2 separate regions of the Homo sapiens genome follow, and region 2 is linked to region 1. The links are contacts of gene promoters, found by promoter capture Hi-C in blood cells and fetal thymus (Javierre and others, 2016). All regions are on one chromosome and are shown on one strand. Each heading gives the region's core, a stretch centred on a gene start or on the middle of the fragment in contact. The rest is flanking DNA. Distances are from core to core; before and after follow the strand shown.

Region 1 (7,936 bases), core at 1,786-4,285:
CTCACCTCAGCCTCCTGAGTAGCTGGGATTACAGGTGCTCGGCAGCTCACCCGGCTAATTTTTGTATTTTTTGTAGAGATGAGGTTTCGCCATGTTGCCCAGGCTGGTCTTGAACTCCTGAGCTCAAGAAATCTGCCTGCCTCAGCCTCCCAAAGCACTGGGACTATAAGTGTGAGCCATCGCATCTGGCTTGTTATTATTTTTTTAGACTGCTGCTGTAATTCCTAGAAGAAACTGCTTCTCTAGCATTCGCTAAATCCACTTCCTTAAGTGTTTGCTGGGCACCTGCTCAGTGCACTAGGGCACCTCGGTTCCTTTAGGGGACAACAGAGCCCTGTCCTCGGGGAACTGGAGGTACACCCAAAGGCAAGTACTGAAAACAGTGCTCTGCAACATCTGCCCCAAGGGCTGGCCAGGCCAGAGGCCTGAGGATGTCCTGGCTGTTAACTGTAACCTCACCTGGACTCTGTGCCCACCTGTTGCCTCATCCTTGCTTGACAGATGAAGAAACTGAGGCTCAGTGGGGTTTTGTGCTGTGCTCATACACAGGGGAGCTCAGATTCTAGTCAGAGCAGGCTGATTCCAGACCCTGTGTTTTTTGTTTTTTTGTTTTTTTTTTTTTGAGACGGAGCTTCACTCTTGATGCCCAGGCTGGAGTGCAATGGCGGGATCTCGGCTTACCGCAACCTCTGCCTCCCGGGTTCAAGCGATTCTCCTGCCTCAGCCTCCTGAGTAGCTGAGATTACAGGCATGTGCCACCAAGCCAGCTAATTTTGTATTTTTAGTAGAGACAGGGTTTCCCCATGTTGGTCAGGCTGGTCTCGAACTCCCGACCTCAGGTGATCTGCCTGCCTCGGCCTCCCAAAGTGCTGGGATTACAGGTGTGAGCCACCGGGCCCGGCAAGCCTGTGTTCTTTACTACCCTACAGCTCCATTCCCTCAAAGTCTCCCACTCCTCTCCTGAGACCCTCCTTCCTTCCCTCCCTTTCTGCGTCCCCTGACCCCTGCAAGCCTCACCTCGCAGCCAGCGCAGGAGGAAGTAGTCATCAGCATTGGGCAGTATGGGCAGCAGGTCCTGGAGGTTCTCCCGGAACTGAGCGGAGGAGGATCTGATGGTCGGCGGAGCTCTCATGACCTCGGGGGCCACCAACCCCGCCCCTAACCCTTCCCACATCATCCACCAGTCAACTCCACCAGAAGACCATGCAGGGTGCTGCCCTGAACGACTTTGCCATCTGAAAATAGGGCACCCTCCAGCCCAACATAGGAAAAAGAGTTGGGTCCTTCCCAAAATTTGGGAGTGCCCTACACACTGGACTCCCATTCTACATGTCTAAGGTGGGGCCCTGGCATCCTTATTTTTAATTTTTATTTTATTATTATTTTTATATTATTATTATTATTATTATTATTATTGAAACAGGATCTCACTCTATCGCCCAAGCTGGAGCGTAGTTGCGTGATCTTGGCTCACTGCAACCCGTGCCTCCCGGGTTCAATAGATCCTCCCAGCTCAGACTCCCAAGTAGCTGGGACCACAGGCACACAAGATGCCCAGCTAATTTTTGTACTTTTTGTAGAGATGGGATCTTGCTATGTTGCCCAGGCTGGTCTCAAACTCCTTGGCTCAAACAATCCACCCGCCTTAGTATCCCAAAGTGCTGGGATCACAGGCGTGAGCCACCATGCCCGACTGACAGCCTTATTTCTACAAGGATCCCTGGGAGAGTCTGATGCAGGCCAGCTAGGCGGTTTTAGGAATGTTGTCCCTGATACTGCATCTTGAGGGTTTAGATTTAGAGGCAAGTTACCAAACCTCTCTAAGCCTCAGTTTCCTTATCTCTGAAATGGGGATAAAAATAAACTTGTACCAATCAAAGGAGTCTGTGCACGTAAAACACTTAGCAGGCTTGGCTCCGAGCAGGTGTCAGATATATGTGAGCACTCAGCCAGCGTGGACTGCCTGATGCCCCGGACAATGGAGGCTTTGTGGAAAAAAAACAGAGGCAGAGGTCAACAGACAGGGGCTGAAAGAGAAGCCAGGAATGCCTTATCAGGGCATCTGTTGCGTCTGAGAGAGAGGAGATCTCACTTCCCTGGGGACCAACAGAGCTGAAGGCAAAGGCTGGGTTTGAAGGTGAATCTGTGAATCCAAATTTGGGATTAGAAATATGAGGCCGGGCGCAGTGGCTCACACCTGTAATCCCAGCACTTTGGGAGGCCAAGGCGGATGGATCACAAGGTCAGGAGTTCGAGACCAGCCTGTCCAAGAGACCTGCCTGGCCAATATGGTGAAACCCCGTCTCTACTAAAAATACAAAAATTAGTCGGGTGTGGTGGCGGGCACCTGTAGCCCCAGCTACTTGGGAGGCTGAGGCAGGAGAATCGCTTGAACTCAGGAGGTGGAGGTTGCAGTGAACCGAGATTGCGCCATTACACTCCAGCCTGGACGACAGAGCAAGACTCCATCTCAAAAAAAAAAAAAAAAAAGATTACAGAGAAGCTTGGGCCCTAAGAACAAATCACAAAGAGAAGCCAAACAAACAAATGTTGCAACCTGGACATGAAAAGCAGTCTGTCTACCCAAGGCTGCCCCCGCAGCCGGATGGCAGCGCCACTCCCTCCCCCACAACCGGGGAACAAGGACCAGGGCCGGGTGGTGGAGAGCACGCAAGGTCAGAAGACTGGATTCGGCTCCTGGTCACGCAGAGATGGGCCCCTGTCCCGCGTGCTGCACGTAGCCGCCTCAACAACCGCACGCTGGACCAGAGGGCAGAACAGAGGCGCTCTCTCCAGGCTCGGTGTTCCAGTCTGTACCATGGGGGCTCCAGCCGGGTTGGGCAGTGCCAGGCTGCTCAGGGCCCCTCCTCAAGCCTCCCAGCCCGCGATGCTCCTCACCCTGGCCAGCGCTTCCTGCTGCTGGGGGCTCAGGTCCCCGACTCGGCTGCTCATGGTGCCCGCGGGCGCAGAAAGGCTCAGGGCGCAGGTCCGCCCGCCCGCCGCCGCCTGGCCTTGTATCCGCTGCCGCCTGGTTGTGCCTCCTGGGCCAGATGTTGGTCCCGCCCCGACGGGAGAGGCACTGGGCCTGCCCCGCCCCGCCCAGTTCTCTCCTCCTCTCCAGGATTTTTTGCTGCGGTCACCAAGCGCACCCTACTTGGGACAGGGAGGTGACCTGCCGGGAGAGTGGCCTGGGGCAGCTGGAGGCAGCCACCTCCAGGCCTCCTTACTGCGGGGGCTCCCGCCTGTTCGCAGGTGGCAGGAAAGGGAATACACTGAGATCCTCTTTCCAGCAAAATGGAGGAAATTTTTTTTTAAATGTTTTTTTTTTTTTGGGCCAGGCGCGGTGGCTCACGCCTGTAATCCCAGCACTTTGGGAGGCCGAGGCGGGCGGATCACGAGGTCAGGAGGAGATCGAGACCATCCTGGCTAACATGGTGAAAACCCGTCTCTACTGAAAATACAAAAAATTAGCTGGGCGTGGTGGCGGGCGCCTGTAGTCCCAGCTACTCGGGAGGCTGAGGCAGGAGAATGGCGTGAACCCGGGAAGCGGAGCTTGCAGTGAGCCGAGATCGCGCCACTGCACTCCAGCCTGGGTGACAGAGTGAGACTCCGTCTCAAAAAAAAAAAAAATTTTTTTTTTCTTTTTCTTATTTTGAATAAAATAGAGACCGGGTTTTGCTATGCTGACCAGGCTGGTCTGGACCTCCTGGCCTCAAGCAATCCTCCAACCTCCGCCACCCAAAGTGCTGGGATTAGGGATGTGAACCACCATACCTGGCCAACATGGAGGAATTTTTAATAAACCTGGCTCAACCCTCTAGGACCCCCAGGGCTTTTGTCTAATGACCCCCAAGCTCCTTCCCCTGACCTTGAACACAGCCTGGGACCTGTCAGTGCTCACTGACTGATAGGACAGCCTCATGTGCAAAATGGTTCCTGCCCTCAAGATGGTTGGAAGGATAAGAGGACGCACCCTGGGTCAGCAGAATGTCTGGCGTTGCCTGCTCAGTAAGTGCTGGCTGGTAGGAATATATTTCAGAATTGTGTTATTACTGAGGCTGTCACCAGAGCTGGGAGCTGCAGGGGTGGAGATCCTAGGGTGTCCCAAGTGCGGAGCTCCTGGGTGAGAGCCACAGTCTGAAGGTGGAGGCATGCAAGGTGCCAGCCGTGGACCAATGGAAGCCCTGGGCAGAGTGACAGAGTGGGCGGAGAGCCAAAAGGCCACTCTGGCTGACACAAGAGAGCCAGGCGGAGATCACTAGGAAAAGCAAGAAAAAAGTTCAGCCAGGCGCGGTGGCTCATGCTTGCAATCCTGGCACCTGGCACTTTGGGAGGCCAAGGCAGGCGGATCACTTGAGGTCAGGAGTTTGAGACCATCCTGGCCAACATGGTGAAACCCTGTCTCTACTAAAAATACAAAAATTAGCTGGGTGTGGTCGTCCACGCCTGTAGTTCCAGCTACTCAGGAGGCTGAGGCACAAGAATTGCTTGAACCTGGGAGGTTGAGGGTGCAATGAGCCAAGATGGCACCACTGCATTCCAGCCTGGGCGACAGAGCCAGATTCTGTCTCAAAAAAAGAAAACAGAAGTTGGCTGGGTGTGAATTTTCAAGAGAGGAGTAGAGGGGACGTGAAGATGAAGGAGAGAGTAAAACAGGCCACAAGACCCTGTTCCCTCTGTCCTCCCATGGAATCAAACCAAGCTCTAGTCCCGAAAGGACTAACCCAGTGGCCGTGAGCCACAGAGGCTTTTGAGCCCAGACAACGTGGCTTGTCATAACAAGCATAGAGACATGCTGTAATTGTAAAATACAAACCAAGTTTTGATGGCTTAGTACCAGAAAAAGTAAAATGTTTCATTAACTAATTTTATTTATTTATGTACTGAGACAGCATCTCACTCTGTCACCCAGGTTGGAGTGCAGTGGTGCAATCATGGCTCACTGCAGCCTTGACCTCACGGGCTCAAGTGATCCTCCCACCTCAGCCTCCTGAGTAGCTGGGACTACATTCTCACCCCACCACACCCGGCTAATTTATTTTTATTTTTATTTTTATTTTTTTATAGACACAGGGTTTTGCTATGTTAGCCAGGCTGGTCTCAAACTCCTGAGCTCAAGCCATCCATCTGCTTCAGCCTCCCAAATTGCTGGTATTACAAGCGTGTGCCACTGCTCCTAGCCTCATTAATTAATTTTATATAAATGATTATATATTAAGTGATATTTTTGAATATAATAGGACAATAAAATATGTTATTAATATTACTTTCACCTGTTTCTTTTGATGTTTTAATAATTTTGAATTATTTATAATGATAATTTTTTTTCTTTTTTTAAGACAGGGTCTCAATGTGTCACCCAGGCTGGAGTGCAGTGGCAAAATCTCCGCTCACTGCAAGCTCCACCGCCCCCCACCCCTGAAGCTCAAGCAGTGCTCCCACCTCAGCCTCCCCAGTAGCAGGGACTGCAGATGTGCATCTCCACATCCGGCTAATTTTTGTATTTTTTTGAAGAAAAATACAAAACATGGTTTTGCCATGCTGCCTAGGCTGGTCTCAAACTCCCGAGCTCAAGCGATCCTCCCGCCTCAGCCTCCCAAAGTCCTGGGATTATAGGCATGAGCCACAGTGCCCAGCTAAATTGTTATTTTTTAGGACAGTTTTAAGTTCACATCAAAACTGGGCAGAAAGTACAGAGTTCCCACATATCTGCTGTCCCCATACACACACAACCTCTGGTTCCAGAGATATCCATTTGCTGAAATTGATGAGCCTACACTGACACGCTAATATCACCCAAAGTTCCTAGTTTACATTAGGGCTCATTCTTGGTGTTGGATATTCTATGGGTTTTGACAAATGTATAATGACATGTGTCCACCATTGTGGTATCACGCAGAATAGTTTCACTGCCCTAAAAATCCTCTGTGCTCCTACCTATCCTTTTTACTTAAAAAAAAAAAAAATGTAGCCACTGGGGCTGGGCGTGGTGGCTCACGTCTGTAATCCCAGCACTTTGGGAGGCTAAGGCGGGTGGATCACCTGAGGTCAGGAGTTTGAGACCAGCCTGGCCAACACGGCGAAACCCTGTCTCTACTAAAACTACAAAGATTACCTGGGCATGGTGGTGCACGTCTGTAATCCCAGCTACTCGGGAGGCTGAGGTAGGAGAATCACTGAACCCGGGAGGCGGAGGTTCCGGTGATCTGAGATTGCGCCATCACATTCTAGCCTGGGAGACAGAGCAAGACTCCATCTCAAAAAAAAAAAAGTAGCCACTGGAAAGATTTAAAATTACACGTATGGGCTGGGCATGGTGGCTCACACCTGTAATCCCAGCACTTTGAGAGGCTGAGGTGGGCGGATCGCTTGAGCCCAGCAGTTTGAGACCAGCCTGGGTAACATAGTAAAACCCCGTCTCTACTAAAAACACAAAAATTTGCCAGGCATGATGCTGTGCGCATGTAATCCCAGCTACTCAGGAGGCTGAGACAGGAGAATCACTTGAACCCAGGAGGCAGAGACGGGGGTTGCAGTGAGCTGAGATCATGCCACTGCACTCCAGCCTGGGTGACAGAGTGAGATTCGGTCTCAAAAAATAATAATAATAATAAATAAAATAAAATTACATTTATGGATCACATTTATGACTTGCATTATATTTAATTTGAACATTGTTTGCCCTATAGAGATTTAAAATATGTTTTTAGAAAAAGAAAGTAAATCATAAAAAATGCTAAAAGAAAGTAAAAGTGACACCACATCTCTGGAAGGGCATGGTCTGTGTTTAAAAACAATGACAGAATCACAAAGGGAAAATGAATTGATTTGACTACAAAATACAAAAATCTATTAAACAAGAAACAGAATTAAGACATTTATCAGAGTCGGGCGCTGTGGCTCACGCTTGTAATCCCAAACTTTGGGAGACTGAGGCGGGCGGATCAGGAGATCAGGAGTTCAAGACCAGCCTGGCCAACACAGTGAAACCCCGTCTCTACGAAAAATACAAAAATCAGCTGCGCATGGTGGTAGGTGCCTATAATCCCAGCTACTCGGGAGGCTGAGACAGGAGAATCACTTGAACCTGGGAGGCAGAGGTTGCAGTGAGCTGAGATCATGCCACTGCACTCCAGCCTGGACGACAGAGCTAGACTCCATCTCAAAAAAAAAAAAAAAAAGACATTTGTCAGTATTTGCTGATGGAAATTTGGGAAAAATAAAATGTACAAAAATTCAAGTTGATAAGAAAAATAGGAAGGCCCTAAGAAATAAATGGGCAAAGGATTCAAAGCACCAATTCTTAGGAATGAAAATGCTCAGGGTGTATTTATCAAGTGGATGAATGCCCAATCTCCAGAGTCATCAATGAAATGTGTATTCAAGTAATGAGATGCATTTTTCTCTGAAAAATCAGCAAAAACAAACAACACACACACACAGACACACACACACCTTTTAAGAAAAAACTACAAAATTAGCTGGGTGTGGTGGGGTGAGACTGTAGTCCCAGCTACTCAGATAATAGGCCAGGCACAGTGGCTAACACTTGTGATCCCAGTACTTTGGGAAGATCTCTTGAAGCCAAGAGTTCGAGACCAGTCCAGGCAACATAGTGGGACCTCGTCTCTACAAAAAATTAAAAAACTAGCCAGGCGTGGTGGCATGCTCCTGTAGTCCCAGCTACTTGGGAGGCTGAGGAGGGAGGATCACTTGAGCCCAGAAGGTGGAGGCTGCAGTGAGCTATGATTGTGACACTGCACTCCAGTCTGAGTGACAGAGGGAGACCCTGTCACAAAAAGAAAGAAAATAATAAAGTCAGTTAGAAGTTGGTGAAATGGAGACATTAATACATTGATGGCAGGAATATAAACGAATTCAGCTTTTCTGGAAAACCACTTGACCATACACTTCAGAATCCTGAAATATTTTCCCA
Region 2 (7,936 bases), core at 3,362-5,861, 390 kb before region 1:
CAGGTGATGTACTAGAGAGTGCTGAAGTGGAGAATGAAGAAGGAGGGATTGGATGGCTGTGTTAGATTGGGCAGTTCCTAGGAGGCATCCCTGAGAGGCTACTGTTTGAGCTGAGATGAATAACCAGAAGGAGTCAGCCCATGCAAGTCTGTGAAGGGCAATGGCATGTGACAGGCCAAATAACACCACAGTTAACATCACAGGCATTGGCGTCAAATCGCAGTTCTACCACTTACTAGCTACATCAATAATGAGACTAATGTCTACTTCAGAGTGTTGGCTACACAAGGAGATGAACTTGTGAAATATTTAGGGCAGTGCCTGAATATTATTATTATCATTAACCGGAGACCACATGTTCCAGAATATAGCTGTGCAAAGGCCCTAAGACAGGAAGGAATCTTGGGTGTTTGAGCATAGAAAAGGTGCCATGAGCCTGGAGCTTAGCTGAGTGCAAGGGAAAGTGGCCAGAGATAAGGTTAGAGAGGCAGACAGGGGACAGATGGGTAGGGCCTTGCAAATCAAGATAACTTTTGGATTTTATTTTAAGGGTGGTGAGAAGCTAATGGGGGTTTTTAAGAAAATGAGTGACATGGTCTGATTTGTATTTTCAAAAACTACTTTTGGCTGCAGAACAGAGAATGAGCATCAGATGGACTTGCAATTTGCTTTAGAGATAGACCTGAAAAGTCTTGCCAATGGGTTGGAATGTGGAGGGAGAAGGAGAGGCTGCATATGTTGCTGCTGCTTTGGCCTATGTGACTATATTTAGTATGATTCATAGAAACCACTGATGAGCAGTTCAATGGTTCATCTTTATTAGGCAACACATTAGTCTGAAAAGTGTTATATGAGGTGTTAAGAATAGTGCCTGCTGTAAATATACTTTCCTAGATAAGCCAGAGTCAGACTGAAGTTAATTAAGGATTAGCATCTTCTGTAAAACAATTATAACTATAACTCTTTTATTAGTTGCTTCAGGGATCAAATAATAAAGTGTAAATAAAATTATCAACTACTAAAACAACCTACTCTTGTTACAATTTAAAAAAACAAAAGATCACTCAGAGCATTAAAAAGCTAGAGTTGATTGAGAAACATGGGCAGGCAGGAAGAATGAGCATTGTTTGCTTGGCAGAGCAATTACACCCAGCATTGGCTAAGAGAGGACTCTGTTCATCTCGCCTATCTGGAGTGAACCTGTTGCTATAGGCTCCTCTAATCTCATCTGTCTCTCCTATTGTATTTACAAAGCAGTTTTCTGAACTTGATTTGATTTCTCAAGTAGGCTGTCTTATTCAGAAAATACTTTTATCTTTTAAAATTAACTCCATTACAAATCAATCTCCTTAGAGTTTAAGCATCATGAGCCAATTTTCCCAAGATCTGATCACCTGTAATTAAGTTTCATGTTAAGGTTTAAGATCAGCAGAGCTGGGAGGCTTAAAGTAACAGAAACACTGAGACTTTTTCTGATCAGTCTGACATCCTCATTTTCACATTGTCAAGGATCAAATACTGAACCAGATGAATAAAGGACATTTTTTGTGTTCTGTTTTGAGCTTATACTGTTTACTTGTCATTAGTACTTCTCCAGCTCTGTGGACATACTGTATGACATATCTGGGCCAAACATTTGCTTCAACTACTAGATGTTTATTTTATTTATTTATTTTTAAAATTTAATTTAGTTATTTTATTTATTTATTTTTATATTTCAGTTTATTTTATTATTTCTTTCCTTCTATTCTATTCTATTTTTTGAGATGGAGTCTCGCTCTGTCACCCAGGCTGGAGTGCAGAGGAACAGTCTAGGCTCACTGCAACCTCTGCTTCCTGGGTTCAAGCGATTCTCCTGCCTCAGCCTCCTGAGTAGCTGGGATTACAGGCGCACACCACCACGCCCGGCTAATTTTTGTATTTTTAGTAGAGACAGGGTTTTCCCACATTGGCCAGGCTGGTCTTGAACTCCTGACCTCAGGTGATCTGCCAAAATGACCTCGGTCTCCCAAAATGCTGGGATTATGGGCGTGAGCCACCATGCCCAGCCAGACATTCATTTTATTTTAAATGGAATCTATCTCTTATGAGGAAATTTGTCCCTCTTTATTTCTAGTTTTCTTAACAGTGAGGAGAGCAGATAGCAGTAGTAGCATCTAGTTTTCAGTGCAGGACTGAAAAAACAAGACTTGATATCAGAGATCAGGGCTCCTTTTCTAATTTTTGTAATTTTCCTATTGCCATTATAGTCTTCCCTGAATTACTGCAGTAGACTCTTAATTGCTCTCATGGTTTTTATTTCTTCCCCTCTGCACTTTTAAAGGAGCCAAGATGATGTTTAAAAAATACAAATCACTCACCTGCTTAAAACTCTTCCGTAGACTTCTAGCTTACTTAGAATGAAATCCAAACCCCTTACCATAGCCAACAAGGCCCCATAGTCTCCTTTATCACCTCATTTCCTGGGTTCTCCCCCTCGCTCACTGGTTTCCAGCCACTGGGCCTCCTCTCTGACCCTAGAAGAGGCATCCCTCCCCACTTCAGAGCCTTTGCATTGCTGTTCCCTCTGCCTGAGGCACCCCACCCCCAAGATCTGCACATAACTGACCCTTGAGGCTCAGTTCAAACCTCACCTCTTCAGCAAGGCCTTCCTTGGCCCTTCCAAACCAAAGCAGCACTTGTCCCCTTCATGTACCTCTCTATCACAGCATCTGCTTCTTGTTCACAGCACTTACACTATCGGAATTAGCTTATTTCATTTGTTTACTTATTTACTGACTATTTCCCCTACTGGATTGTATGTATATTCCAGAAAAACAGGGACCTTTTCTGTCTTGTTCACCGCTGTGACTCCAGTGACTGGCACAAAGTAGACATTCAATACAATATTTGTTACATGAATGAATGGTTTCTCAACTGTTTCCACTGTTGTTTACCTAGTTTGGTTAGATATTTGACTCTGTGATTTTGTTTTTCCAGCTTTAAAATGGTAATAATAGTATCTTTCATCTAATTTATTTTTAGCATGGAGGAGAAAAACTAGGTTGTCTTTATATTTGGAAATATTACTCTTGAATAATGTGATACTGTGAAACAAACAGCTATATAGGAAGTACAGTAGATATACAGTGAAAATGTTCCTTACTTATGATCAGGTAAGATTCTGGATTTCTTTTCTAAATTCTTTTTTTTCTTTATTTCCTTTGGTTTTTGTAGAAGGTGACTGAGATGTACCAGTTCAAATTCAAATACACGAAAGAAGGAGCCACTATGGATTTTGACAGGTAGAATCTAACTGCTTAATGAACATGAGAAATAAATAGGATTGAGGTAAACATAAGCTTCTTGAGGCCAGAGAAAGGCCTTATACTTCTTTACACATTTCCCCACAAACCCTACAGAAAACCACTATTATAAAAAGGGGCTGCAACAATTGTTTACATTCCTGAAATCCATGGATTAAGCTGGTGGGAATAGAGAAAATGGCATGCAGCACAAAGGTAGAAATTATGTCAATAAGGTTGCCTACACGCTATTGATTGAATAACTCCATAAGGCTCTGTCTAGCCATTAATTCAAAGTTTCTCAACTGCTATGCCTAGATAGCGATCCTTTCCACCTCGATATAGCCAGCCTGTGCCTAGGGTAGATAATACCCTTGGACTATTTGCCCGTATGCACAAATATTCTCATTTGCTTACCCCAGTATGTCATATAAATATCATTTCCTTGTGTCCTTGTATGAAAAGATTAGAAAGCACTGCAGTTTCCTTATGAAGTCGAAAATTCCAAGTTTTAGGTTACTAATGGGTTAAATAGCAAACACAAGGACATTGAAGAGCAACGTTTATTTTTCTCCCAGTAGCTTTTGGATTCAGACCTGCCAGGGGGGATGGAGAGCTAAGTATTGCTGATGAGATGGCACAGTAGTGGAAGGTACAGATGATGGTGAAAAGCTCTGGATAGTAGAGGAATCCAAGTAAGGGGGATGGATGCCCTTGAAAGGAAAGACTGATGAGAGACATGGCCTAATTTTCAATTTTCCCTACTATTAGCTCTGGCTCATCATTTGCCATGAGCTTGAGGACTTTTCTCCAAGATTCACTCCCTTGATTATCCTTCCATTTGTAAAACCTACAGACAGCACTAGAATGTGAAGAGAAAATCAGTTCCAAAAATGAGAATTAAAATATTACCTTTTATTAGCTAACATTTGTATAATACTTTACAGCTTATACAGCAGCACTTTTCATACACGTTTTCTCACATAAAAAGTTACCTTTACTCTCCAAAACTCAAAAATATACACTGATGGCCAGATTAAACTCTTTTGTTCTGAAGGCACATATGCCAAGAGGTAAGCTGTAAAACAAAAATGGCCAAATCTTTCACATGCTAAGGAGAGAAGGTGATGCATATTATTAATTTCCTAGAGAAGAAATATAGGCATTTGTTTAAATGGGAGTCCTGAATATGATTTTACTGATGTGTCCTGGAGGCTCCCATGAGCTACATATCTATAGCCCTTCATTCTGGTTACCTACATTTGAATTGGTTAAATCCTGGTTGGCAGAATTTTAAGTTGTTCAAAATTGGAAAAGGAGCTAATGTATTCACTTAATAAATGTTTGCTTCATGAATTCACACTGTCTCCAAAGATCAGTTAGGGAAAAATCCAACATTTCAATTACTTAGGGTTATTTTTCATATTAAGAGCTAACTATGTGCACAGCCATGTGTAAATATATTATAGTCATGGTCCCTCCTGGAAACTACTCAAATGTGAGACTAATTGTGGAAGGAAACTTTGGAGATAAATGAACAAAGTTTAGAATTGGAAGGTAATTTAGTCCAAATTGTTCATTCATTCATTAATTCAACAAATGTTGATTGAATAGCTGGGCACCAAACTCTGTACTGTGGAGATGAAAGATATAGCCACTCACAGTCTAGAGAAGGACAAATAGTTATCCTGAGGATGAGATGAGGGTATTATCAGAGAAGACTTCTTTGAAGAGTCTGCGCATGAGCTAGGTATTAGAGGATAAATTTAGGACAGTCAGGAAGAAAAGTGGAAAAGCACAGTACAAGCAAAGTGAACAGCATATGCAAATACTTTGAGTGAGAGGAAACTGGGCAATAGCTGCAGATGAGGATGGAGGTGAGGATATGACGGGTTGTGAAAGGAATTGTATACACACTGTCTTTGAATTTGATTGAAAACTGATGGATATAATAGAAGAATTCTAAGTAAGAAGGTGACATGAACAGATTTTCCTATTAGTAATATTATTTCAGCGGTGATATGGAGAATATTTTGTAGTGTGGACAAGAAGGAAAGCAGGAAAAATAGTTAGATAGCCACTGTAGTAATCAATGCAAGAGTGAGGAAGGGATACTTTTGCGAGATAATCAGACGGTAGAAAGTCCCAGAGCTGGTGATTGATTTTATGCTTGAGAGTTGTAGAAATGTCTTTACGCTTATCTCACAAATGAGCTAACTGACCTAGAGTGTGTCTAAATGACTTGACCAAGGTCATTCAGCTAGTTATCAGCAGAGCTGATATTAGATGCCAGGTCACCTAATTCCAAATTCGTTGTTCTTACTGTTGTGGTATATGATTTTTTTCAAATCAAATTTTTAAAAAGATCGTATTTTAAATGCTTTTAGGGAATTTGCTACTTAAGAAATTCTTTGTATATACATTGCAAAAAGTACCATCGCTCCCCTAATTTACATTCTAAAAAAGTCTCAAAATATACTAATGTTTAATTTATATTTACTCACATAGTCAAAAGTTTTGTTCCTTTTGGGATAGATTGCCACTATTGTATATGATCAAAAAGTATGCTTTTTTTTCTGTGTAGTCATAGCAGCAGTACAAGCTTTGAAAGTGGAACAAACAATGAAGATATTAAGAAAGCCAGTGTTCTACTGATCCGTAAATTGTATATACTGATGCAGGACCTTGAGCCACTTCCTAATAATGTTGTACTTACTATGAAACTCCACTACTATAATGCAGGTAGGTAGAGAACTTTAGGCAAATTCCTCCTTAAGTGCTGAGCTAATATTTTCTATAAGTAAAAGGATTTTGCAGGCATCTGAAAGAGAAGTCTGTTGCTACACATGAAAGATTAATCGGATTTGTTGTATTGAAACTCAGTTTTCATGGCTTTTTGCCCTTTTCATTTCGCAGTGACCCCACATGATTACCAACCCCTCGGTTTTAAAGAAGGGGTAAATTCACACTTCCTGCTGTTTGACAAGGAGCCTATCAACGTGCAAGTGGGATTTGTCTCCACTGGCTTTCATAGCATGAAAGTAAAAGTCATGACAGAGGCTACAAAAGTGATTGATTTGGAGAACAATCTGTTTCGGGAGAACAGCACTACTGAGATCGCCCATCAGGGTCTAGACTGTGATGAGGAAGAAGAATGCAATGACCATGTAAGGCAAAGCTTTAGAGATTTTCTATCGTGTCAGTTAAACACAATTGATATTTTTCAGTTTCTACCCAGGGCATGCACGTGGAGTGTGCCAGCTATAAAAACTGAAACAAAACTAGTCTCTGACATCAAGGAGTTTTTAATCTAAAAAAGTTTAATCTTCTAAAAGGAAATATACTTTATCAGATGAAATTGTCCATAACTAGGAGGAAAAAGATTTTCTAATATATTTATTTTATTAAAGATATCATAAATTTAGAAAATTTGAGGTTTTCTTTCCTTTATTTGTAAATGACATAATTTTAGGGTTGAAAAATATTCTAGGTATTTATTCATACTCATTGGAAGTATAAATCAGTTCTTGATACTGAGATAATTGGATGGGAGGAGTTGGGGAAGATAAATTTTATGGATAAACCCGAGTCAGCGTGAAAACAAATAATAGTTAACTTCTGGTTATGTGGAGGAAGACAAGCTTTGGGGCTAACTCACTGGGGAAAGTCAGGGGGTTGGTGGGGTTGGAGCTAGTGGAGCCAAACAGTCAGGTCTCTGATCCCTTTATCCTCCCATTTCCACCAATAGAGACTTGGAGTTAGATTCTTGCTAGGGTCCCATTATGCCCTAGGTAACTCCACACCCTTAACTGGTGGTTGTCTGGATAATAATGTTAACTGTATGACAACATTGTGTTAAAAGGGTTCTGAGTTAGACAAAAAATTTTCAGTAGGAAGGGATGCTATAAGATCTTTTCAGGAGATATTTTAAGATTAGAATGATAACTTGTTTGCTTAAGATAATTTGAGTCTTATTTAAAGATAGGTGACTGTACTAGGTAACTTCTGAAGGTTCCTTCTAGTTCTTTAACTCTGTATTATGTTTAATACATTGAAAAGAGGTTCTAGTTGTTCTAGTTTTAATTCAATTAATGTAAATAATATAACCAAACAAGTAACAGATTGTTTTTAAATTTTTAGTGCTTTCTCGATGTTAGACATAAAAATGACTTTGGATTTTGGTGCAATTTTCCTCTTCCAATTTCACCCAAGGAAGATATAGCTAACATAGAAAGGGGAAAAAAAATGAAGGTTAAGAAAAGAATGTTTCAGCTAGTTTTTTTTGTTGTTGTTCTTGTTGTTTTTGAGACAGGGTCTCGCTCTGTTGCCCAGGCTGAAGTACAGTGGTGCAACCATGACTCACTGGTGCCTCAGCTTGCCAAGGAATCCTCCTACCTCAGCCTCTCGAGTAGCTGGGACTATAGGCACATGCCACCACACCTGGCTAATTTTTTATTTTTTAATTTTTTGTAGAGACAAGGGTCTCACTGTTACCAGGGCTGGTCTTAAACTCCTGGGCTCAAGCAATCCTTTCACTTTGACCTCCCAAAGTGCTGGGATTACAGGTATGAGACACCACACTGGGCCTCAGCTAGGTATTTATTTATTTATTTATTTATTTATTTATTTATTTAGGGAAAGAGTCTTGCTCT

What was found. Contacts are between HindIII fragments. The CHiCAGO score rates a contact against its expected background, and 5 or more counts as called.
Region 2: a contact is called between a fragment that was not itself captured here and the fragment with the promoter of SEC14L4 in region 1, in 1 of 17 cell types (total CD8 T cells). The highest score is 5.4, in total CD8 T cells.

Annotation. Positions count from the first base shown.
Region 1 is chr22:30,502,660-30,510,595 of GRCh38, forward strand. It overlaps SEC14L4 (SEC14 like lipid binding 4), which reads right to left and starts at 3,036. Exons shown (of 12, transcript NM_174977.4): 1 at 2,899-3,036; 2 at 1,018-1,093. The coding sequence starts at 2,952. RefSeq lists a silencer at 2,803-3,097. The HindIII fragment of the contact is 5,471 bases long and covers 2,502-7,936 here.
Region 2 is chr22:30,115,764-30,123,699 of GRCh38, forward strand. HORMAD2 (HORMA domain containing 2) reads left to right here. Exons shown (of 11, transcript NM_152510.4): 8 at 3,217-3,284; 9 at 5,869-6,026; 10 at 6,201-6,451. Among named protein-coding and RNA genes, the nearest start is that of HORMAD2, 39 kb to the left of the region's middle. The HindIII fragment of the contact is 2,545 bases long and covers 3,340-5,884 here.